2 separate regions of the Homo sapiens genome follow, and region 2 is linked to region 1. Evidence: promoter capture Hi-C in human tissues and cell types (Jung and others, 2019). All regions are on one chromosome and are shown on one strand. Each heading gives the region's core, a stretch centred on a gene start or on the middle of the fragment in contact. The rest is flanking DNA. Distances are from core to core; before and after follow the strand shown. Region 1 holds the start of RIPPLY2 (ripply transcriptional repressor 2). Region 2 overlaps LOC107986620 (a long non-coding RNA gene).

The links. The method cuts DNA at HindIII sites, captures the fragments that hold promoters and counts their contacts. A contact is called where the count stands out against the background at its distance.
Region 2: a contact is called between a fragment that was not itself captured here and the fragment with the promoter of RIPPLY2 in region 1, in 1 of the 25 tissues and cell types used here (lymphoblastoid cells).

The regions. Positions count from the first base shown.
Region 1 is chr6:83,851,776-83,854,870 of GRCh38, reverse strand. RIPPLY2 (ripply transcriptional repressor 2) reads right to left here and starts at 1,511. Exons shown (of 4, transcript NM_001009994.3): 1 at 1,360-1,511; 2 at 1,098-1,176; 3 at 710-774. The coding sequence starts at 1,454. It overlaps RIPPLY2-CYB5R4 (RIPPLY2-CYB5R4 readthrough), which reads right to left and starts at 1,511. Exons shown (of 18, transcript NR_174604.1): 1 at 1,360-1,511; 2 at 1,098-1,176; 3 at 710-774. The HindIII fragment of the contact is 6,654 bases long and covers 1-3,095 here.
Region 2 is chr6:84,372,510-84,375,604 of GRCh38, reverse strand. All of the region lies in intron 1 of LOC107986620 (a long non-coding RNA gene), which reads right to left. It overlaps LOC107986619 (a long non-coding RNA gene), which reads right to left. Exons shown (of 3, transcript XR_001744234.1): 3 at 2,751-3,095. Among named protein-coding and RNA genes, the nearest start is that of LINC01611, 100 kb to the left of the region's middle. The HindIII fragment of the contact is 4,858 bases long and covers 1-3,095 here.

The DNA of each region.
Region 1 (3,095 bases), core at 262-2,761:
GCACACGGTAGGAAATTAGATGTAATGACTTCTATGTGTTATTTATGACCAGGGGCACTTTACAAACATCATCCAGCTCTTCATTTAACAGCTCTCGGAGGCAGGAAAACTGCAGAATTCTTAACATTTCACCTGAATAAAAGTGACACAGAATCTTAGATAAAGGCTGACTTCCTGTGACTAGGAACAGTAAACTAGCTCCGCAAGTTAAATAAACTTTTGACCCTTTCTATAACCATTCTCAATAATCTTTAGGATTTTCATTACATTTCTATTTTTTCCTACTCGGCAAACTTGTAAGACTGTAACTGTTAATCCCATTCTTCCTTCCAGATTGCAAGACAAAAGCAGCATACACACTCTGCCTGATGCGAAGTCAATTTCATTCGAACCCTTTAGGATTTAAAAATAAAAACTGTTTTGCCAGCACAAGATGTCACCGCTCTCTTACCATATCATCCCCTTTCCCTCTTCGTAATATATTCATCAAGTTCACTGAGTATGTATTCATCAACAGTCCCTTTACGTGGGACCGTGAGCCCCTACCTTTTTCAATTTGATGAGTGAGAAGATAAGTAACCTTGAAGCCAGATTTTCAGAGAGAGAGAGAGAGACTGCAGGACCAGCTGCGGAGCTGGGCTGCGCGATGCCCCTGGCTCCTCCCTGGGGCTGGAGGAGCGGGAGACCTTCGGCGAGGCCTGTCACTCACCTGACTGGGTGCCTGAATTGGTAAAGCTTTCCTGAGGCTGCGGTCATTCCAGGGCCATCGGGCATCTGGAGAGGAAAGGAAGTGAATCCAGTTATCACCCACCTCCTTCTAGAAAGTGGAAACGTGCACGACCCAGTGTTCCTCGTGCCCGCTGGGAATGTAACCCCAGGGCTCTCAGCAGCCTCGCTCCCGGCTGGGTGCCTGTGGCCCATCGCTCCAGAGGACACATCCGCCGCGTCGGCACCTTTATGGCCACCGGCAGGCGGGATGTTAAGCGAGAGGCAGGACCCGGTGTCTCGCATGTCTCTCTCAGGCCCTGCGTCCCGAGAGCCCTGGTCGATCTTCTGCACCCGTGGGAGGCGCGGCCTGAGACGCGTGGCTCACTCACCGCCTCCGCGGCGTGGTTCGGCGTCTCCTCTTCTTTCTTGCCTCCGGCGTCCACCCAGGGTCTCCAGAAGCCTGCGTATCTGCGGGATAGGGGAGCACAAGGCGCGCAGAGGAGACGTGAGCCCAGACCCGGGAGAATCCACCGAAGCCGAGCGCTGGCACCGGGCAGTGGGGGATGGAGAGTTGGAGGGGAGGAGCTGGGGAGGCGCAGGAGGGAGAGACGGGGGAAGCTGGGAGGCGCAGAGCAGCGCGGGGAAGCCTACCCGGAGTCCGCGCCCGCGCGCCGCGTAGGGCCGTCGGTGGCCGCGCACGCCGCAGCTCCACTCTCTGTACCCTCTGCGCCTCCCGCGTTCTCCATGACGCCGCAGAGCTGGGCGGAAGGCCGCTGCCAGCTCGCGGGCAATCTTGACCAGTTCCAGTAGGTCCGAGACCCGAGCTTTATATAGCCCTCGCGGCCTGCTGCACATTGAGAGGTTCGCTGCCTCTCCGCCCCTCTCCCTGCTAGCCGCATAAACAAAAAGGCTGCGCGTGAAGGCGCACCGGGCTGAGCCCCGGGTGTGAACGCGTGCAACTCCCAAATGGCCCGGGACAGGGTTTTGTCGAGCGAATGTTAATCGCCCTTCGACACATGGCTGCGGAGAAAAACAACATTCGCCCGAGCAGCCAATTTCCGTGTGAAGAGGCCAGGAGGAGATGGAATTAAGCGAGTCTACACGTTTTGTGGATTTCTGCAAAAAGGCCAAGTGACTGGTTAATTGCTTGATTCGCTGGAGACTCAGGACTTGGCCTGTGGCAAATCAACTGGTTCTGCATCCCGTGTTCTAAAAGCTGGGATGCAGACTAGAATTCAAAGGAATAAACTTAATTCCTCTTCATGGAACAATTTTCTAAAAAATGGGGAGAATGCATGGACTCCTTAAGAGAGGAATGTCGGTTTTTTAAAAAAGTATTGATAAACTAGGTTCATACTCCAGCCTATTATTATTTGAAGATAATAGAAAATTATTGGCAACAAGAGGTAAATTGTAAAAGATTCGCTGTTCTGGCTAAGAGAGCCAGAGACTGGAGTCATGTGATTTGGGCATAGAGCTCTAAATTATCTTCTCGTGTCTTTTGTGATTTTCCCCAACATTTTATCAGTGTCCTCCTACAATAACTTTTGAGTTCGTCTATACACCTCTGTCACTACTTGGTATTTTGTCACTCAATGGTAATTACAAAATTCTTTTTTGAGGGCAGTGTTGTGGAATGATAATGAAATCTTGAAAAGTTATGATATGAGACAAGTTAATCAAACGTCTGCACCCCTGTTTCTCTGATTTGAGTTACCCCTCACTTATCTACCACTAAACTTTGTAAAAAGTGTTATGCATCGAGGAAAAGATGATATATAAATGTTATAATTTTTTTCAAAATGTTTTAAATAATAAAACTGGACTTTCTCTTAAAAGTTTAGACAAAAATCTTGATTGTAAACTATAGTTGTCTCTGCTATTCATTCAGCTACTGCATAGGAAAATAATTTAATTATTAATAGTAGCTAAGAGCCTATAATGATCTACCTGCCAGGAAGGTGAGATTTGGGTTGCTTCTGATAAGAAAATCAGTAAGGATAGATACCTAATGCATGTCTGCATCCCCTACAGTTATTGTTAGGCTAAATAAAATAAAGCTTATAAAATGCGTTTTGCAGTGCCTGGCATATAGTAAGCCTTCAACAGATTTTAAGCTACGTAAAAAAATATAAGGCCTTAACAGATGTTAACCTTTCTGATAAAATGGCTTATTATTTCAGTTCCATAATGTAAACTAGTTAAATCATTGTGGAAGATGGTGTGGTGATTCCTCAAAGACCTAGAACCAGAAGTACCATTTGACCTAGCAATCCCATTACTAGGGATATATGCAAAGGAATATCAATCGTTATTTTACAAAGATGGCATGCATAATGTTTGTATGCGTATGTTCATTGCAGCACTATTTGCGATAGCAAAGATAT
Region 2 (3,095 bases), core at 266-2,765, 520 kb before region 1:
TTTCCAGACATTGGTTTAAACAAATATTTTATGGCTAAGACCTCAAAAGCACAGACAACTAAAACAAAAATAGATAAATTGAACTATATGCAACTAAGAGCCTTCTGAACATCAAACGAAACAGTTGACAGAGTGAAGAGACAACATGTTAAATGGGAGAAAATATCTGCAAACTATTCATCTGAGAAGGGACTAACATCTAGAATATACAATAATATACAAACAACTCAATAATAACAAGGCAAAACAAATATTTCATTAAAATGTGGAAAAATGACATGAATAGACAATTCTCAAAAGAAGACCTAAAAATGAACAGCAGATATATGAAAAAATGCTCACTATCACTAATCATCAGGGAAATGCAAATCAAAACCACGATAAGGTATCATTTTACCCCAATTAGAATGGCTATTATTAAAAAGACAAAAAATAAAACAGCTTTCTCTGCCATGCCTGCACCTCTCTCAACCATGCTGCTCCTCTTCCTCCTTCTCCATACTCAAGCCCCACTCATGGAAGTGCTCAAAAGTTATCTGGAGTTGCCTCAGGCACATCTCCCTGCAGATAACCTCATGCAGCCTTTTCTCTCCTCTTTGTCTGGCCAGGCTGGGCTACAAGTTGAGTGGAGGGTAATCCTACATGCACACAGCTGGGCCTGGCTGGGAGCTGAAAATGGTCACATAGCCATGGGAATGTCTTAACATATTCTTACAGGACAGGAAAGATGTTTCAAAAATATGTCATTGTGAGAAAGTTCTGAGGTTGATATGAGATAACCCAATATAAAGGATACTGAACAAAGTAAGGGATTAAGGTGAAACTTTGAAGAAGCTGAAGGAGATGGGCTCAGCCAAAGGATTTACACAGAAGAGCTAATGTTCTTGACTATGACATCTAATGAAAGATGCTGCCAGGAGGTCTTATTTAGAGTGGAGGAAACATGGTACATGCGACTATTTCCAGAAATGTTGAAACATAAGTAGACTTAAATGTTATCAGATCACCTACTGGTGTCAACAGCAGAAAGTGTCCTAGAATCCCAGATGTTTGGCTCATTTGCTATGCATAATATAGAATTCTCATCTGCTCCTTGGTTTAGAGGTGTGACACCATTTTACCTGCCCAGTTTTTAGGTCTGAGTTTAGATAAGTGTTTTAGAATAATAGAAGGCAAACACCATGTATTAGTCCATTCTCACACTACCATGAAGAAATACCCAAGACTGGGTAAGTTATAAAGAAATGAGATTTAATTGACTCACATTCCTGCAGGGATGAGGAGGCCTCAGGAATCTTACAACCATTGCAGAAAGAGAAGCAAACGTCCTTCTTCACATGGTGGCAGCAAAGAGAATGAGAACCAAGCAAAGGGGGAAGCCCCTTATAAAAACATCAAATCTTGTGAGAACTTACTATCATGAGAATAGCATGGGGGAACCACCCCCATGATTCAATTACTTCCCACTGGGTCTTTTCCATGACACATGGAGATTACGGGAACTACAATTCAAGATGAGATTTGGACGGGGACACAGCCAAACCATATCACACCACTTCTTAAGTGATATGTTTTTGCCCATTTTCTAAAATAATTTTTCTGGCTCTAAAAGTAAATACTTTCATTGTAGAATATTTGAAGAACATACAAAACTCATAAAGAATAAAATGAACTCACCAATAATTCCATCAATCAGAGATAAGCATAATTAACATTTTGATTCTGTAGTTGCAGTCCTTTTCTCTACACAAACATGTAAATTTCTTATTACAAAAGTGTGGTGATACCTCACATACTATTTTCTAACACAGTCTTCCACCTCAATTTATTGTGAACATTTTCCAAATTGTTAACAACTCCTCTAAAATAATCCTTAGTGGTTGCTTCAGATTCAATTATGTTTATACACCATAATCCATTAATCCAGTTCCCTATGGTCTAAGATTTAAGTTGTTTTCTATTTTTCGCTATTACCAAAAGCACAACTTTCTTTAAAAATAGTAAGGAATAAATTGCTATTGCCATTACCACTGAATTTTTTTTAGAACACTACACAAATACATTTAAGGGAGCGAAAAAGCCAGAAAGAAAAGATGACTTTGGTAGCAGTGTTGAGAATTTTTAGAGGCTGGTTTAAATAAAGGTTAAGATGACTTCAAGAAATAAGTTCTAATCACGAATGGGAGAGATAACTAGCATTTGAGCAAAGAGTATAAGAGAAAGCAGAACTACATACAGAAATGTTGAAAAGGAATGTGAGGAAAATTAAAAGAACAAGGCAATGTAGAGTGCAAAGCTGAGATCTTAAAATTATTGTTTAAGAAGCAATTTTGTTGACTTTAATGGCAAACCAGTCAGGTGCTAAAAGTGTCGAAGGTTCATAAAACAGTCTGATGCAGCAAGCTTGTAGACAAGGACTGTGTGGCCTCCTTGCTCACAGCTGTGTGCTGGGTTTTAGCATCGAGCCAGTCCAGTTAACATACTGACTGGTGGTAGTTACAGACATGAAATTGTACCTGCATATAATCTAAGTAAGATAAAAACAGTGCAAGTCTGCAAAATTCTATCCACATCCAAAGTGTCTCTGAGAAGTCGAGGCCCTGGTGATTTATTTGTCCTACACCACAAGTAACATCATTTTGAAATGATTTTTAAACCAAATTATTTTCTTCAACTTGAAATAGAAACATGTGAGGACATAAAGTAGAAAAAAAATTGAGTCAGAAAGTGTTTTTCTCCATATTCCCCAACATTCAGAATTACTTAGAGAGACCATGGATACTTTCAAAGAAAAAGTATGGTTATGATTCCCCAAGACTCTTCCCTTGTTCTAAGCACAACCCAAGCAATAGCCCATTAGGGAAAGCTCTGACTCTAACCTTCAATTTGTGTCATGAAAGATGGTGCCAAAATTTTTTCACCCTTTAGATCTTCTCAGAGAGGTATTCACAGTTGGGCAAATGAAAGGGTTTGTGACATTAAAAGGCAGCAGTGTGTCCTGGCCTACAGTTTGTATCACAAGTGACAGGTCTGAATTGCCTTCTACTCAGGCAAGCAAAAGAGAAAGTTAAAAAAGAAGTTCAAGGAGTAAGTTT